3 separate regions of the Homo sapiens genome follow, and all the other regions are linked to region 1. Evidence: promoter capture Hi-C in 16 types of primary human blood cells and fetal thymus (Javierre and others, 2016). All regions are on one chromosome and are shown on one strand. The core of a region is centred on a gene start or on the middle of the fragment in contact, and the rest is flanking DNA. Distances in the headings are between cores, read along the strand shown.

The links. The method cuts DNA at HindIII sites, captures the fragments that hold promoters and counts their contacts. A CHiCAGO score of 5 or more calls a contact.
Region 2: a contact is called between a fragment that was not itself captured here and the fragment with the promoter of SUCO in region 1, in 3 of 17 cell types (neutrophils, fetal thymus and activated CD4 T cells). The highest score is 9.5, in neutrophils.
Region 3: a fragment that was not itself captured here is called in contact with the fragment with the promoter of SUCO in region 1 in 7 of 17 cell types (neutrophils, total B cells, fetal thymus and 4 more); the score reaches 11.5 in neutrophils.

The regions. Positions count from the first base shown.
Region 1 is chr1:172,531,620-172,534,806 of GRCh38, reverse strand. It overlaps SUCO (SUN domain containing ossification factor), which reads right to left and starts at 1,657. Exons shown (of 24, transcript NM_014283.5): 1 at 1,310-1,657. The coding sequence starts at 1,371. RefSeq lists enhancers at 1,269-1,428, 2,039-2,288, 2,349-2,458 and a silencer at 1,549-1,718. The HindIII fragment of the contact is 4,223 bases long and covers 544-3,187 here.
Region 2 is chr1:173,472,076-173,475,262 of GRCh38, reverse strand. All of the region lies in intron 1 of LOC100506023 (a long non-coding RNA gene), which reads left to right. Among named protein-coding and RNA genes, the nearest start is that of PRDX6, 3.7 kb to the left of the region's middle. The HindIII fragment of the contact is 981 bases long and covers 1,094-2,074 here.
Region 3 is chr1:171,774,740-171,777,926 of GRCh38, reverse strand. No RefSeq gene overlaps it. Among named protein-coding and RNA genes, the nearest start is that of METTL13, 5.3 kb to the left of the region's middle. The HindIII fragment of the contact is 4,827 bases long and covers 1-3,187 here.

The DNA of each region.
Region 1 (3,187 bases), core at 408-2,907:
CTAGGCAGCCCCAGAAAGAGATGGAAATGAATACAAGCTTCAGTATCTACAAATTTAAATTTAAAATGAGGTGAGTGGATTTATCTCTTACAGGCACTTCTCCGTACCCAACACAGTAAGTAGAAAGGGGAGGATTTTATTAAAAACAGGAGACGGGTATTAAAAGGATTCAGAATGAAAGGTAATAAGTCAATTGTTTTTGTTCTCAAAAACTTCTATCATTCTTCCAATAAAAATCCCTCAGCCAGGCGAGTGTTTTCTCTTCCCCTTGTTTATGTATTATTTTATGTGAGCAACAACTCTACAATTTCAGTGCTTCTGGAATCCATAAGGCATCCATAAAAATGAAAATAGTGTTGGTGCTTTGCAGAAATAAGCAAAACAGGAAACTTAATTTCTATTTTAATATAACAAACAGCAAATCGCCTAGACTGAAGAAGCATCTTTTCAGTCATCAATTGTCACACATCTTTGAAGAAATTCCCTGGGAGGAAAGAATGGCTTTTCCAAGTACGGTGACAGCAGTCCCTCGACTTACAAGCTTTCTCTGCTCCTCAAAAAACTCCAGAAGTGCCTGGGATTAACAGAAACTCCGTAAAACTTAAGGAGTGCTTTAGGGACAAAGCACTCTTCCCGCCTTGAAAATACAGCATTTACCTTCCCGTCACTAAGGGGCATTACCAAAAACTACTACACACACTACATCTAAGACACCCTCTCCACCAAACCAATTGAAAAAGTGCTTCATAACACACATACACACACGCCCCCCAAGTTTCCAAAAACAGCGGCCCGAGTGTACTTGGGATCAAACGCTGTGCGAGAAATGTCCAGGAGAACTACTGCTTATACATTACTCTTACCTTCATGACCACTCACGTTTTAAAATCGCACGTCCGGAACGCATCACATCCGACGTGCTTTATCCCCTTACCACACTAAGAACGCAAAGACTGGCGGCAAATCGGAGCAACTTACTTACCATCAATCTGAACACCCACCCCAAACCCTGCACCGTCTCCAAGGGGTAGAGGAACTGAGTACAAAGGCACTTGGTGGTTCCCTCTACCTTGGCACCTCTCTCTCTCCCACTGAGTCTCTGTAAATTCCAAAATACACCATGAAAATCTCCGCACAGAGCACTACCAGACCAGTCAGATGGAGAGTCGAGAAGTAATCGGTTTGTCCCTTCCACGGGGGCCTTGGAAACCCGGACCCTAAAAGCCAAAATGACCAGGGGGTGTGACCTGGGCTGCTCCCTCCCATTTACTCCCCTCACGGGAACTCCCTTGTCGTCGCGGCTACTCACCAGACCAGAGAGCACAGAAAGAGGCAGGAGACCAGGGCCAAGGCCCGCCGGTGCTTCTTCATCTTCTCCTCCTTCTTCCCCCTGCCAGAAGGCGGCACATCCTCCCGGCAGCCGCCACTGCCGAGGCCAAGATGGAGGAGCCGGAGCAGGAGCGCGAGAATGTGACCGATAGTCCTAAGGGCTATGGCGCTGGCTGAGCGGCTCCTCAGTGGCTCGCGTCCTGGCAGCCCTCTCTGAGGGCCCCACAGAGGCGCGGACAGGGGCGCTTCACAGGACTCCGGGGACCGCCGCCGCTGCAGCCACCGGCTCGTCCACGCCCGCCTCCTGCAGCCGCCACTGCCGCCCCATATCCTCCCCGCCCGCCGGGGGCCTTGCTCCGTGAGGCCAGCGACCAACGGCCGCCGCGTACTCGCCTCTCAACAGCCAATCGCCGGCGGGGCCGCGACACCTCACACACCGCTGAGCTGGAAAGGGACGCGTCACCCAAGTCCCGCGGCGCCCGCACCCCCACCAGCCTCTGCGCAGGCCACGCCCCCTTCGACGTCGCAGGCGGAGAAGCCGGAGGCAGGAGACCACAAAGCGCAGGAGCAGATGCTCTCGCCGCTCCGCCCGCCCCAGGTCCCGCCCACTTGCTGGCTTGCGTTCAGAAAGCCGGGAGGAGCCCAGTGATCCTCAGCATTTCCCCTTACAGTGGACCGCCCTTCGTCCCTCGCGCGCTGAGTCCGCGCAAGGGCCTTTGGGAGTTGTAGTTTGCCTTCCAGAATTCGTTTTTCTCTTTCCCAGTCCCTCCTAGAATCCATGGTTTTGTTAGAGAAGTCTATAGTTTCGCTGCTCACCACGAGACTGATCAGCTTTGGAACTGTTGCACTGTTTTCCTCTTTTGAGCACAGTTCGTGGAATGGCCTAGAATGACGTGTGTGTTGTGAGGGAAGCTGCACCAAGCCCTTTCCCTGTGGCAATGGACTGCCCCATTGAGCTAGATGTTGATTGGTAGATAGAAAGGGGCGTGCCAAGAATCCTCTCATCTGATTGGTTGCAGCGGAAAACCTTTCGCTTTTTCTTCTCTTCAGCAAGAATTTCGCCGCTTGCCGGGTTCCTCACTTTAAGTGTGCTTCGTTGCTTTTCGTTCTGTTGGTTTCGAACTTTGGGTTCTCTGCGATGGAGTCGGAAGGGAGGAGTTGTCCCCATTAGAGGAGCACCCACAGACGCTCCAAGTCCTGGGGTTCACCTAAAGTGGGGAAGGCAGTCGCTTACACTCACCTAAGAAGAGCAAAAAGTGACCACTTCTCAATACTAAGTAACGGGGCAGCATGCCCATTCCAAGTGTTTACGCCGCTGAGGGGACGGAGGCTGCAATGGTCTGTGCCTTGGAACATGGCATAATGTTTAGTGTGAAAAATGTTTAAAGGACGGGTTACTTATTGTTCATGTGGCCGTAGGGAAAAAACCCTCAGTAAAATGCCCACCTAACGCCTAATTTTGAGCCGCGGAATTTCCTTATGAACCTTCTAAGTTGAATTGGATGTTAATTATAGTCCCAAAGAACTGAATGATTTGATCCGCTCTGTGATTCTTGGATATAAGTCAATTTGATGTTAGAGAAATTATACAAAGGGTGATAATTTTTGTTTTAAAGGAGTTCACCCTGAACTGCCTTTTCTGGCAGTAATTAGGTACAGTTCCACTTATCTGCTGATGCCACTCTTAGTATATGACAATAAAATCCTTTCATCTGTCACCTATTGCGGGAAGCAAGTATTTATCTCACCCAAAAACAGTATCAAATGATTAATATGCAAGTTTAAAAGAAAGTAGGGGCAATGAAAGGGTAGGGATAAATTGACATTCTTTACCATGTTGGACACTCTTTTCCTCTTA
Region 2 (3,187 bases), core at 335-2,834, 940 kb before region 1:
TGGTCTCTGAGTTCCCTCAGTATTTACTGATCACTATCTCTACTATCTCGGTGAGGGGGATGTGGCAGGACTATAGGATAATGGTGGGGAGAGGGTCAGCAGGAAAACATGTGAGCAAAGGTCTCTGTGTCGTAAATAAGTTTAAGGAAAGGTTCTATGCCTCGATGTGCACATAGGCCAGATTTATGTTTGACTTTACACAAACATCTCAGTGCAGTAAAGAGCAGTATTGCCTCCAGCATGTCTCACCTCCAGCCATAAGGCGGTTTTTTCCATCTTAGTAAATAGAATGTACGTCGGGTTTTACACCGAGACATTCCATTCCCAGGGATGAGCAGGAGACAGATGCCGTCCTCTTATCTCAACTGCAAAGAGGCCTTCCTCTTTCACTAATCCTCCTCAGCACAGACCCTTTACTGGTGTCAGGCTGGGAGACGGTCAGGTCTTTACCTTCCCACGAGGCCATATCTCAGGCTGTCTCAGTGGGGAGAAACCTTGGACAATACCCAGGCTTTCTTGGGCAGAGGTCCCTGCGGCCTTCCGCAGTGCATTGTGTCCCTGGGTACTTGAGACTGGAAAATGGCGGTGACTTTTACCAAGCATACTGCCTGCAAACACATTTTTAACAAAGCACACCCTGCGTAGCCCTAAATCCATTAAACCTTGAGTCAACACAACACATGTTTCTGCCAGCACAGGGTTGGGGCTAGGGTTACAGATTAACATCATCTAAAGGCAGAAGAATTTTTCTTAGTTCAGAACAAAATGGAGTTTCTTATGTCTTCTTCTTTCTGCATAGACAACAGTAACAGTCTGATCTCTCTTTCTTTCGTCCACATCAGCATTTTGAAAACATGATTTTTCATAAAAATATCTGGATTTTTGTCTCCTGAAAGGTCAGAAGATCTAGCAACACAGCAACACCAGGCCCATGTTCCATCTGGCAAACAGTGGCTGCTGAGTAGCCTTTTAGAGGGCAATGTTCTCTGTTACTCAGAAGGTCCTCTGCCAGTTACTAACATTAGAGTAGAATTGGGAGGAAAAAGAAATAGTTCTTGCATTCTTATCTGTCAAAACTGTGCAAATGAAAGCTTAACTAAGGGCTGTATATTTCAAGAAAAAAATGATCATGTTTCTTTGTGAAAGTAGAGAATGTTCCATGAACTTAATATGCAAACAAAGTCAGAAGAACGCTGTTCTGCCTGGCCTTCGTAGGTAATTGAGTTTAACATCTGACTTATACCAAAGGTAGGTGCTCTGTGGACTGGGCCCCATTCCAGAGGGAAAATTTTAAAGCTATTTTCCTGAGGGTTAGTGAGATGTATAATGGGAAAGGAGGAGGGGAGGAAGGACAGAGGAGACATTCCAGGGAAAGACCGGAGTGTGGAAAAGGGAGAGCTTGACTAAGAAAGGATTTACTTTCCTTAGAGAGAGGGTGGAGGCTCTCCTATCAGAAAAAGTGTTTTCATACAGCTATAAGGGTCGGAGAGAACCTTGAAGTCCTTACAGTAATCTGAGGGACAGGAAAGAATGGATTTCAGGCATTTCCAGAGGGCTGTGACTCTGGGATGACTCACATCTTCTCTTCTGTCTTTACTGCTTTGACAGAAGAATAAAATGAACAGATTAGCAATGGGCATTTGGAAAAACAACAGTGCACCATGATGCCTGTCTCTCTCACTAGATTGTGAACTCCTAAAGGTTTGACTATATTTTATTAATGAATATTTGTGACCTGTTACACATAGTGGGCATGAGGACTACGTTGTACAAAGTATTAGAGAAACATTGGGTCGCCTTCCTGCAGCCACAACAGCAAAGTTTCTTGTTTGTCCACAGCTGGGAGTAAAAGAGCAAGATGTCTCTAGTTATACAGTCATGTGATACAACATTGGACCACATATACTACGGTGGTCTCATAAGATGATAATGGAGCTGAAAAATTCCTTTCGCATAGTGATGTCTTGAGGATCCTGACCCTGTGAAGCCCTAGGCTAATGTGTGCATTTATGTCTTTGTTTTTAAGTTTAAAAAGTTTCAAAAGACAATAACCTTTTAGAATTATAAAAAAGCTTATAGAATAAGAATATAAAAAAGAAAATACAGTATTTTGTATAGCTATACAATGTGTTTGTGTTTTAAGCTAAGTGTTATTACAGAAGAGTCAAAACATTAAAACAATTTTAAAGTTTATAAAGTAAAAAAGTTATAGTAAGGTAAGGTTAATTTGTTATTGAAGAAAGAAATTTTTACACATGAATTTAGTGTAGCCTAAGTGTACAGTGTTTATAAAGTCTACAGTACATTCATTCACCACTCACTCACTGTCTCACCCATGGCAACTTCCAGTCCTGCAAGCTATATTCATGGTAAATGCCCTATATAGGTGTACCATTTTTTATCCTTTTTTTTTTCATTTTTTTTTTTTAAGACAGGGCCTTGCTCTGTCACCCAGGCTGGAGTGCAGTGGTGTGATCATAGCTCACTGCAGCCTCAAGCTCCTGGGCTCAAGCAGTCCTCTCACTTCAGCCTCCTGAGTAGCTGGGACTACAGGCACATGCCACCATACCTGGGCAATTGTTTTATTTTTGGTAGAGACGGGGTCTTCCTAACCTGTGTTGCCCAGGCTGGTCTGAAATTCCTGGGCTTAAGTAGTCCTCCCACCTTAGCCTCCCAAAGGGCTGGGATTACAGGCTTGAGCCATATTTACCATGGTGTTATAATTGCCTACAGTATTCAGTATAGTAATGTGCTGTGCAGGTTTGAGGCGTAGGAGCAATAAGCTATACCATGTAGCCTAGGTATGTAGTAGACTATACCATCTAGGTTTGTGTAAGTGCACTCCATAATGTTCACACAATGACAAAATTGCCTAATGACACATTTCTCAGAACATATCCCCATCGTTAAGTGATGCATGACTGTAATTAGAGCTAGGTAAAAATCCCTGTACCAATGGGAGGAGACATATAAAACTAAAATTAATGTTAGGATGGTGAGATTGTGTTTTTTTTCAACTCTATAAACTTTCTTGTTAGATTTGATTGTCTTTTCAGAAATAAAGAAAGCTTGGGCACAGTAACCTGTACATATCATTAAGGCAGTCCTGTCAACCTTCAGTGAGTGGGGCTGATAATCTCTCCACTGCTTTTCTTTATCATCGTAATAGTTCGTTTTCATGATGCTG
Region 3 (3,187 bases), core at 217-2,716, 760 kb after region 1:
AATTTATTGAGACTTGTCAGACTTCTGACTGATCCAACTGTAAGATAATAAATTTGTATTGCATATAGTACTAGTTTTTGGTAATTTGTTACAGTAGTGATAGGAAACTAATACGGAACATAAACAGAAGAGAGAAAGAGAGAGAGAGAGTATGTGTGGTTGGGGCAGAAGGTCACAGTGGGGAGAAAGCAGCAGAAGATACAACTAGAGGCTGAGGTAAAGGGCAGGTTTTGAGGAGTCTTCTATTCCACATATTTAGCTTCAGCCTGTCAGGCCACAGGAAGTCAACAGAGAAGCAGAGTCATGACAGAAAGACCTGATCTGAGAGATGTTCTCAGGAAAGACTGAGGCACTTGATGACTGATTGAATAGGGGGAATAAAAGACTGAGGGACTCATAAATGACTCCTACATCGGCCTCTGGATGACTGAAGAAATAGTCTGTAGAAAGAAACGGGGAAGGAGAAAGGGGTATTATTTGTAGAACTGTTGCTAGAAAAGAATTTAGAGGTTATCACTCCAGTAAAAACCAGAGCCAGAGCTAAAAGCCAGTCTCCCCACCCTGCATGCCTACCCCAGGGCTCATACCCTTCTCACTTCCTGTCAGTGGTATCCAGTTGGAGTTGGTAGGTCCAACACATGAAAATGTTTCACGAGTGGGATATAAAATTAAGTAAAGGGAATGTCTCTTTGGTGTACAGGGAGTGGCTCATATAATGCTGGAAACTATTTCAAATTGGAAATCATCTTAGCAAATGGGTTTGTTTTCCACATTTGAGAAGTTTAAAAATGAATGTTCTCCTGTATCTTGGGATAATAGAAGGCAGACACAATAACATCCTAGGGTAACATTCTGCCATTTTATTAGCTGAGTGTCAACACTTTTCTTGACGATATTGTTGACCTGAAAAGTGACTATCAAGCTGATATTGGATTCCTAAGATTGGGATGATGATAATAGCTACTTATTTATTTATTTATTTGTTTGTTTGTTTGTTTATATAAGACAGGGTCTCACTGTGTCACCCAGGCTGGAGTGCAGTGGTGCAGTCACAGCTTACTGCAGCCTCGACTTCATGGGCTCAAGTGATCCTTCCACCTCAGTCTCCCAAGTAGCTGGGACTACAGGTACGAGCCTCCATGCCTGGCTAATTTAAAAAAATATATATTTTTGTAGAGACAGGCTCTCCCTATGTTGCCCAGGCTGGTCTCAAACTGCTGACTTCAAGGGATCCTCCCACCTCAGTCTCTCAAAGCGGTAGGATTACAGGTGTAAGCCACCATGCCCAGTGCATCATAGTATTTTTTAGTTTGTATAGCACTTGTGATTGGCCAAGAATTTTTCTCATACACTGAATCCATGGGAAGGAGAGGCTCAGAGCTACAGAGTTAATTTTCACATTGGCAGAGAATCCCTTTGGGTGAATGTGCCAGCCTTGTACAAGATTAACAAATTCGTTTCAACATAGATGATTACACACTGCTTTCTTAAATATATATACCTATACATATATAATTAAGGCAAAATTCCAATTGATTACAAGTAAGTGAAAAAAAAAAGTTATATATGACTGAGCGAATTGAGCCGTGACTGCCTCTGGTATTGTATTTGATTCCCAGGATTTTCTTTGTGCAGTAGTTTCCTACTCTGTCACTAAGGGCGTCTGTTGATGGATTGGTTTCCTCATATGCATGGACTGCAAGGCATTAATATAGGGCATATTATACATTGCAAGTTGTTTGCCTTTGGGGCCAGTAGGCAATAACATTTTGAAAGCTGCAAGACTGGGGAGATGAAGGAATGATGCCAAGGTTAACAGGCTGTGCATGAATACATTTGACCCCTATATGAGGGGGCTCACAAAGCCTCCTTTTGACTGTCTTTGTTTTCTACAGCCTGGATACTGGGAAAAACCACAAGGGTAAGCTATTAGACTGTTTTCTTCATAATTTTATTCCAAACTTCAGTTTCTTTGCAGGAAAAGAAAAACTTGAAAAACATTTTGTTTTTCTCCTACACTCTAGCACTCTAACCCATGACCATCTCATGTATCCCATTTTTATAGATGCTCTCTGTCCTCAGCCCATAACAATATTTTTCTACCACTAAGGGAATGGATTTTAAAACAGCATTTAATAAATAAAATTCACTTGAGTACTCCACCCAGAGGATTTTTTAACGTTCAGATCCAGAGTCCTCAAAGAAACCAGAAAAACAAAACTCCCTTTAGTCCAACAAAAAAGTTATAGTATGTAATACTTCTCTAAAACTAAAACTGTTTTCTTGCCATGGGGCTGCACGAATGACCTTTTCCTAAGAAGAATCACAAATTATGGTGCCAAAACATTTTACTGTTCTTAATTCATCTCATCTTTGAATAGTATATCTTCATCCTCACTGCTGACATACAGTAGAAAAAAAATTTCCACGTGTCAAAATTTCATCCAAGCAGCAGCTCTGATGTTTTTCATTTTTTTAATTTTTAAAAAATTTTAAACAGTTCATCATGTAAGCTCTGGTGTTTGAAGACTCAAAAGAGAAATGTCCTCAGAGAATATGGTATATTTCTGAAGACAGCTGACAGAAGAGGGAACCCTTAGCTAGAAACTATATAGCACAGAAGTTAAGGTTGGGATTTGGAATCAGAATGATCTAGACATGAGCTACCATGCTGGGCTGATTTTTTTTTAATAAGATTTTTTGAACTGAGATATGCTTCACATAAAATTCACCATCTAAAAGTGTACACTGGGCAGGCATGGTGGCTCACACCTGTAATCCCAGATCTTTGGGAGGCTGAAGCAGGAGGATTACTTGAAGCCAGGAGTTCAAAACCAGCCTGGGTAACATAGGGAGACCCTGTCTCTACAAAACAATTTAAAAATTAGCAGGGCATGATGGTGTATGCATATGATCCCAGCTACTTGGGAAGTTGAGGTGGGAGAATCACCAGAGCCTGGGGCTGGCAGGGTTGGGGGTGGGAGTGGCTCAAAACTGCAGTGAGCTGTGATTGTACCGCTACACTCCAGCCTGGGTGACAGAGTGAGACCCTGTCTCAAAACATAAAAAATAAAAAAGTATGCACTTTTGTGTTTTCTAGTACATTCACAATGCTGTGCAATCATTACCACTGTCTAATTCCAGAACATTTCCATCATCCCTACCTCTTAGCAATTAGTCCTATTTT